Linked DNA regions of Homo sapiens: region 1 is linked to region 2. The links are contacts of gene promoters, found by promoter capture Hi-C in human tissues and cell types (Jung and others, 2019). All regions are on one chromosome and are shown on one strand. Each heading gives the region's core, a stretch centred on a gene start or on the middle of the fragment in contact. The rest is flanking DNA. Distances are from core to core; before and after follow the strand shown. Region 1 overlaps SECISBP2L (SECIS binding protein 2 like). Region 2 holds the start of COPS2 (COP9 signalosome subunit 2).

Region 1 (3,392 bases), core at 200-2,699, 140 kb before region 2:
TTACTCTTCAACTGTGTACAAATGATGACAATATACATTATAACACAGGTATGGTAGTTCACTTAAACATGAACATGAGAAGTTTGGCTAACTGGCAAAAAGGCAAATGTAATTTCAGACACTGTAAGTTGAAGGAAGTACTGCATACAAAATAAAGAAAAGCAATTATGTTATAGAATATACAGCTATCAAACCATATCTGATGCTTTAAATCCTAGGTGGCAAACTAGAGTTTCCAAAAAAAAAAAGGGTAAATTAAAAAGTTTGGAACCCAGGTCATACAGTTACATTTGATTGACATTCTACAGTTTTCAATTATTTGGACACGAATTATCTCATTTTGACCCTTTTAACAATAGTGAGTTAAATCAAATATGCTCCCCAATTTATAGATGAGAAAGATGAGAGTAAAATGGTTGCCTAAAATGATATGTGTAGCAAGCACTGAAGTTAATACTGAAATCCAGGGCTTCTGATTCCTGGAGTCTTAATGTTTTGGGATACTACATATTTATCTTTTTTTTAACCTTATAGAAATAATTCATTTTCCAGGGCCCCGTTCTACACAGAAAGATAGTCATGATACTGATGATATCCTGAGCTTCAAATTAACACATTATCGTCAAGATTCATGTGTATGAATACTTCTCACAACAATCTGTTGGCTAAGACACCACAACCTACTTTTACAAAACAGATTAAAATCCTTATTCATCCTATAAAATAAATATCCCACCAGATTTTGGTTTACCTTTTTAAGTGCTGTGGGTCGTTTTAGTTTTGCAATTTCCTTCTCTTTTCCTTTTTTTGCTTTAGAAGAAGCAATGTCCACAGAATTAAAGGATGTCAAACAGGGCTGACTTTTGGTTAAAGGTTTTCTATTAGTAGAGTCTTTAGTGTGAAAAGAAGCTGCAGTAACCACTAAAAACAAAGAGGAACATTAGTTTCACCATTAGGGCCAATCCCACATACTTTCAAAATTTCCAATAACTACAAAAACAAGAACATCCTCCTCCCATGGAAAAAACGACATCATAACAGTAGGAGCACTATACATGGCTAGGCAGTGTCCCTCAGATACAGCTTTTACCTATCCTTTAGAGACTAAGCCAATGCAATTAACCAATTTAGAAGTCCATTATAGGGGTAAATAATTAGTTCTACTCTCCTGTACAACCCTCAAACATGGCAATTCCTTGCAACTGGTCTTCAGTCAGAACCATTCTACCTTTGAAACTTCACAATGCTGCACCCCTTCTTATTCCTACTGAATCTGCTATTTGTCCTTATGTAAGATATCTTATCTATCACTTCTCTCCTTATTTCAGTTGGTCAGTAAAGAATGATGATTTTACCCACTCAGCTGCACTCAGCCTCACTCAGTAATTATTTTTATTTATTTATTTATTTATTTATTTTGAGATGGAGTCTACTCTGTCGCCCAAGCTGCAGTGCAGTGGCACGATCTCGGCTCACTGAAACCTCCACCTCCTGGGTTCAAGCAATTCTCCTGCCTCAGCCTCCCGAGTAGCTGGGATTACAGGCACGTGCCACCACGCCCAGCTAATTTTGGTATTTTTAGTAGAGACAGGGTTTCACCATGTTGGCCAGGATGGTCTCGATCTCTTGACCTTGTGATCCGCCCACGCTGGCCTCCCAAAGTGCTGGGATTACAGGCGTGAGCCACTACACCCGGCCTCAGTAATTCTTTTATGTCTGGTTGATACCCTCAGTTTCCACTGGCTTCTTCCAATCCTTTACTATACCTAAATCCCCAACCTCAATCCTCTCACTCTAGCAGAGCTTTCCTGCCACTTCCCTGAGAAGATGCTATCCAATATAAACTTACCAACCACCTGAAAGGAGGTGGCAGACATCCTTACTCCTGTCCAAGGCTCACCAACTGTCTTTATTCTTAATATCCCATCTCAGTTCCTCTAAGATCTAACTCTATTCCTATACCCTTGCATCTTTCGAGTTCCTCCCTGACCCTTGACTTTTTTCTTGATCCCCTAATAAGATGCTAGAATCTTCTATCTAAAAAAAAGAAAGGGTTTTTTAAAAAGGCACACCAACTAAACCCTTCCCTTCAAGCTAAGGTGCCATCATTCCCCTTTCCTTCCCTATTAAACTTCGAAACAGTTTTTCTCTCATTATCACTTTTCAAATCATTACAATTTGACCTCTGCCCAACCCATTCTCTTGAAACGTACTGTCAAGGTCACACATAATCTTGCAATTGCCAAATACAATTCTCTGACTCTTCACTCTACTCTAATTTTCTTCAGCATTTGGTACCAAGGACTACATCCTTTTCCTCAAAATTCTATCCTTGCCTTCTGTAACATTACACTCCTTTATTTTTCTTACTCTTTCTCAAATCTATGTTTCTTGTTCTTCTTCCTCTTATCCTTTAAATGTGAGCATTCCACAAGGCTTTGTCTGTGAACATCTTTTTCCTAATTTTTCTTTCCCCCAACAATCTGATTTCCACAACTTCAACAATCATCTGTATTTGAAACTCACTGACTTGTAACCTAAACTATACATTCATAACTATATGCTAAATAGGAACCACCAGAATCTCCCATGCTAGCATTTAAAATACAACAGGCAGCATCTGCTCTTCCCAACAAAATTCTTCTATAATCCCTATCTTGTGTAGTAACATCGCAGCCCTTATCACCACCACAGTCATTCAAGACAGAATCTGGAGTCATCACTGACCTGTTTCCAGATCCATCATTTCCCTATAATTCTTTTTCATCATGATCAGTCTCATCCTTTTCTTGAACATGTGTATATATGGGTGTATATATATTAAAAAGATATATAATTATATATAAAACAATATATAGTTATATAATTTATAGTAATTATATCATATTAACATTTAGCAACTGCTAAATGTTTGTTTATGTATATTAACAGTATATGTATAAATATATAAATGTATATATTTAGCAGTATATACTGTATATATAATATAGACATTATATATACTGTATATATGTACACATATAAACATATATATTAACAGTTGCTAAATTAATTGAAGTTGTAACAATAAGCCATCTGAAGTATCACAGGTTAACAATCTCGTCTCCATAATAATATTAAACATTTATTGAGTGATTATAACCCAGATACTCTATAAGCACTTTACATATATCATCTCATCTAATTCTCAAGACAATCCTGAAGTAGGTACTCTCATATTAATGTGAGGAAACTGAAGCACAGGAAGGTTAAGTAACTTGCCAATGAAACACATGGAAGAACAGGATTCAAACAAAGGCAACTTGATTCCAGGGCCCCTGCTTTTAGCTACTAGGGCATACCGCCTCCAGAACACTGCTAACTCTCAGTTTTATTCCCTATTTTTACTCTTA
Region 2 (3,125 bases), core at 186-2,685:
AATTAAAAAAATACAAGCACATATAAAAGAAACATTTTGATAACAAAACACCTGTAATATAAATAAACAGGTAATAAGTAAAAATGGACAGATACATATTCTTAATGAACTGAAGTCACTGCCTACAACTGGCTTGCACAAACTAAAATGTAAGGTAGAAACCATAACTATTAGCGAAACTACATTTAACTTTAAAAATTATAAAAATCTCTACTATGACTTTCAAATAATAGCGAGAATTTCCTTTCTCCCTTTTGCAAAGTGTGCCTTATTTTAAAATGCAAAAAACTGAAAATATATACGAAAAAGTTATAGACTAATTCAAAACAATGTATTAATATTTTGACAATCTCTGGCACTTAAAATGAGTCAGACGTCCCAAAACATCTATTTCGTAACTTTATGATAATGCAGCATCACCATAAAAGAACCATATGAAACACCCCCAAAATAAAGAAACACAGCAAAATTGACGTTAATTCTGGATCAAGATAATTTTCTGAGTTTCCACACGATGTTTTTGAATAGCAAACGTTATTCAAACTTGCAAATCCATTAATAAATGAAGCTTTGAATCTTTAAAAATCTCCATTCGGTCAGAAAAATTCGTTTATTTCTATGCTGTTGCTGTTTTAAACTTTGTATACTGGGAAATTTCTAAGGGAAAAGCCATGGGTTCAATTATCTTTCACCCGTCCTCCAAAAACACCACAAGCAAAACCTCCTCCCCAGCTTTTCTTTATAAAGAACTGAAAAAGTGGTTCGACTACCTTTTTTTCAGTTATCTTTGCTCTGAACTCTCCCCTACACACTTACCTCGGACCAAAACTGGCCCTGGCAAGACTATTTAAGCTATGTCTCCAGGAGACTCACAAGTTGCGTTTCGCAGTCAGGCCTGGGAGCAGTAAGGACACCCCCGTTTTCTGACTTCTCCTAGCATTTCGCACCCGCTCAGTTCCAGTGTGAAGAAGTGGGGGCCCGGAACGCTGGGCCCGAAAGGGCAAAGCCAGGGCCTACACCGCAGCATGGTCACCGAGGCGGCTAGCGCGGTGGGGAGGCAGAAGACAGAGAACCGAACGCCTGGGACCAGGGGCATCCGTGTAAACCGAAGAGGCGCTCAGACTCGGAGGGCAAGGCCCGGGGCCCCCTTCGCTGCCTCCTTTGCCCTCCCTTCCCCCATGCTGGAGAAGCAGGGCCCGGGCCCGGTGCGGGAACGGGGAGGAGGTAAACCAGTCCTGTCACCGCACTGAGAGAGGCTGTAAACGGCACATGCTCTACGGGGAGAGGCCGCGGGCGCCCCGGCCCGGACCCCGAAAACAAGACACATCACCACCCTCAGAGTTCCATTCCCTGCGCCTCACCAGGTCGTAGTCCTCCTCATCATCGCACATGAAATCATCCTCCATGTCAGACATCTTGGCCGGGAGGGGGAGGAGAAATTGGAGACAACCTCCTCCCACAATCCTCCGCGGCTCAGAGGCGTCACTCTCAGCTTCTTTCCGCCTTCCAGTCCCTCTTAGAGGAGCTGTTTCCTGCCGGAACTAATTATCTCGACTTGTAGCTGATTCGCTACGACTCCAAAAGAGACTGCACCACCCCCCGTTTCCTCCGAAGTGGTTGGTGCCTTAGCAACTAAAGCTGGCAACTGGGACATCGTCCGGTGCTGCAGGTCTCAGCCGAAGGGCGTCGGAAACTGCGCTCGCATCGAGCAGTTTCCAGCCTCCTGGGTAAAGGAGCAGTCTCCTCCCTTGCTTGGGACTCTGGACGCATCTCATTCCGGTGAAAGTAAGGGACAGCTTAGGACCAGAAGCCTTTCGCGGAGAAAAGGCTGACATGCCCGTCCTATATGACAGGTATTATTTCTGCTATCATTGTACGTGTGCATTTAGCCCACACATTGCGGTGGGTGTTCCTAAGATACTTGGAGTACTTTTCAGCAACACAGTTTACACTTAATGCTTGTTATATTTGTAGTTGACAAAACAATTCTATGGATATCCTAAATTAGGTATGCAGCTATCAGTTGAGTTGCCTTAAATCTTACTCAGTTGTTCAACGAGTTGTAAACTGACCTTTACAGCCCTTGGGACCAAATTAAGGTAACAACGACTGGTTTTTAAAAAATACATTACTGTGAACCTGAGGGCATCATGTTGTAAGGAGATGGGGGCTGCGGTGACTCGCGGGATCAGGAATTTCAAGAGAACCGAGCGGAAAGGGAAATCCGCAACATGAAGCCCTCTCTCGCTCCCAGGCACCCCTCTACCAGCAGCCTCCTGCCAGAGCAGATTAGTCTCTATCCAGAAATTAAGGGAGAGATTGCTCGTAAAGATGACAAGCTGCTGTCATTTCTAAAATATGTGTGTGTTGATTCCAAAGATCCTGTGTCTTCCGTGCAGCTGAAAGCTGCTGAAACACGTCAGGAGCCAAAGAAATTCAGATTGCCGAAAGGCCATCACTTTGATATGATAAATATTAAGAGCATTCCCAAAGGCAAAATTTCCACTGTAGAAGCATTGACACTTTTCAATAATCATAAACTTTATCCAGAAACATGAACTGCTGAGAAAATAGCGCAAGAATATCATTTAGAACAGAAAGATGTGAATTCCCTTCTTAAATATTTTGTTACTTTTGAAGTCAAAATCTTCCCTCCTGAAGACAAGAAAGCAATACAATCAAAATGAAGAAAATCACAAAAATTTCCTATGTGTACTCCTCATCCCTCATCCTGTATATTTTCTTATTTTTGCATATTAAATTATGTTAATTACCAAGTGTTTAATGCTCTCATTGTGAGAGCATCCTCTTAATATTTATTGAGCTCCCTGAATTTTCAAGATTGCCATAGACTGTATTTTGTTTTCTTTTAATTTGGTTTAGGCATATTTCATATGTACATGTTAGCATGACTAATCAGCACATCTGTACCTTTATTATAAGTAAAAGAGTTAATTTGTTATTTTAGACACATCATACCAACTTTTAAATTGGTCATATGACCCCTTGGGAAGTGTCCTGAATCCCTCATTTAAGTTTTCCTATCCAATTTAGGTGTTTAGTTCATTCTTCATATGTGATAGTGAAAGTAAAAGCTTTCCTGACTCTTAAGACTGACATTTTCT

What was found. The method cuts DNA at HindIII sites, captures the fragments that hold promoters and counts their contacts. A contact is called where the count stands out against the background at its distance.
Region 1: a contact is called between a fragment that was not itself captured here and the fragment with the promoter of COPS2 in region 2, in 1 of the 25 tissues and cell types used here (hippocampus).

The regions. Positions count from the first base shown.
Region 1 is chr15:49,011,897-49,015,288 of GRCh38, forward strand. It overlaps SECISBP2L (SECIS binding protein 2 like), which reads right to left. Exons shown (of 18, transcript NM_001193489.2): 12 at 752-921. Among named protein-coding and RNA genes, the nearest start is that of SECISBP2L, 33 kb to the right of the region's middle. The HindIII fragment of the contact is 5,342 bases long and covers 1-3,392 here.
Region 2 is chr15:49,154,164-49,157,288 of GRCh38, forward strand. COPS2 (COP9 signalosome subunit 2) reads right to left here and starts at 1,436. Exons shown (of 13, transcript NM_004236.4): 1 at 1,362-1,436. The coding sequence starts at 1,415. It also overlaps a transcript of GALK2 not described here and the pseudogene NDUFAF4P1. RefSeq lists enhancers at 1,182-1,711, 1,470-2,388. The HindIII fragment of the contact is 9,462 bases long and covers 1-3,125 here.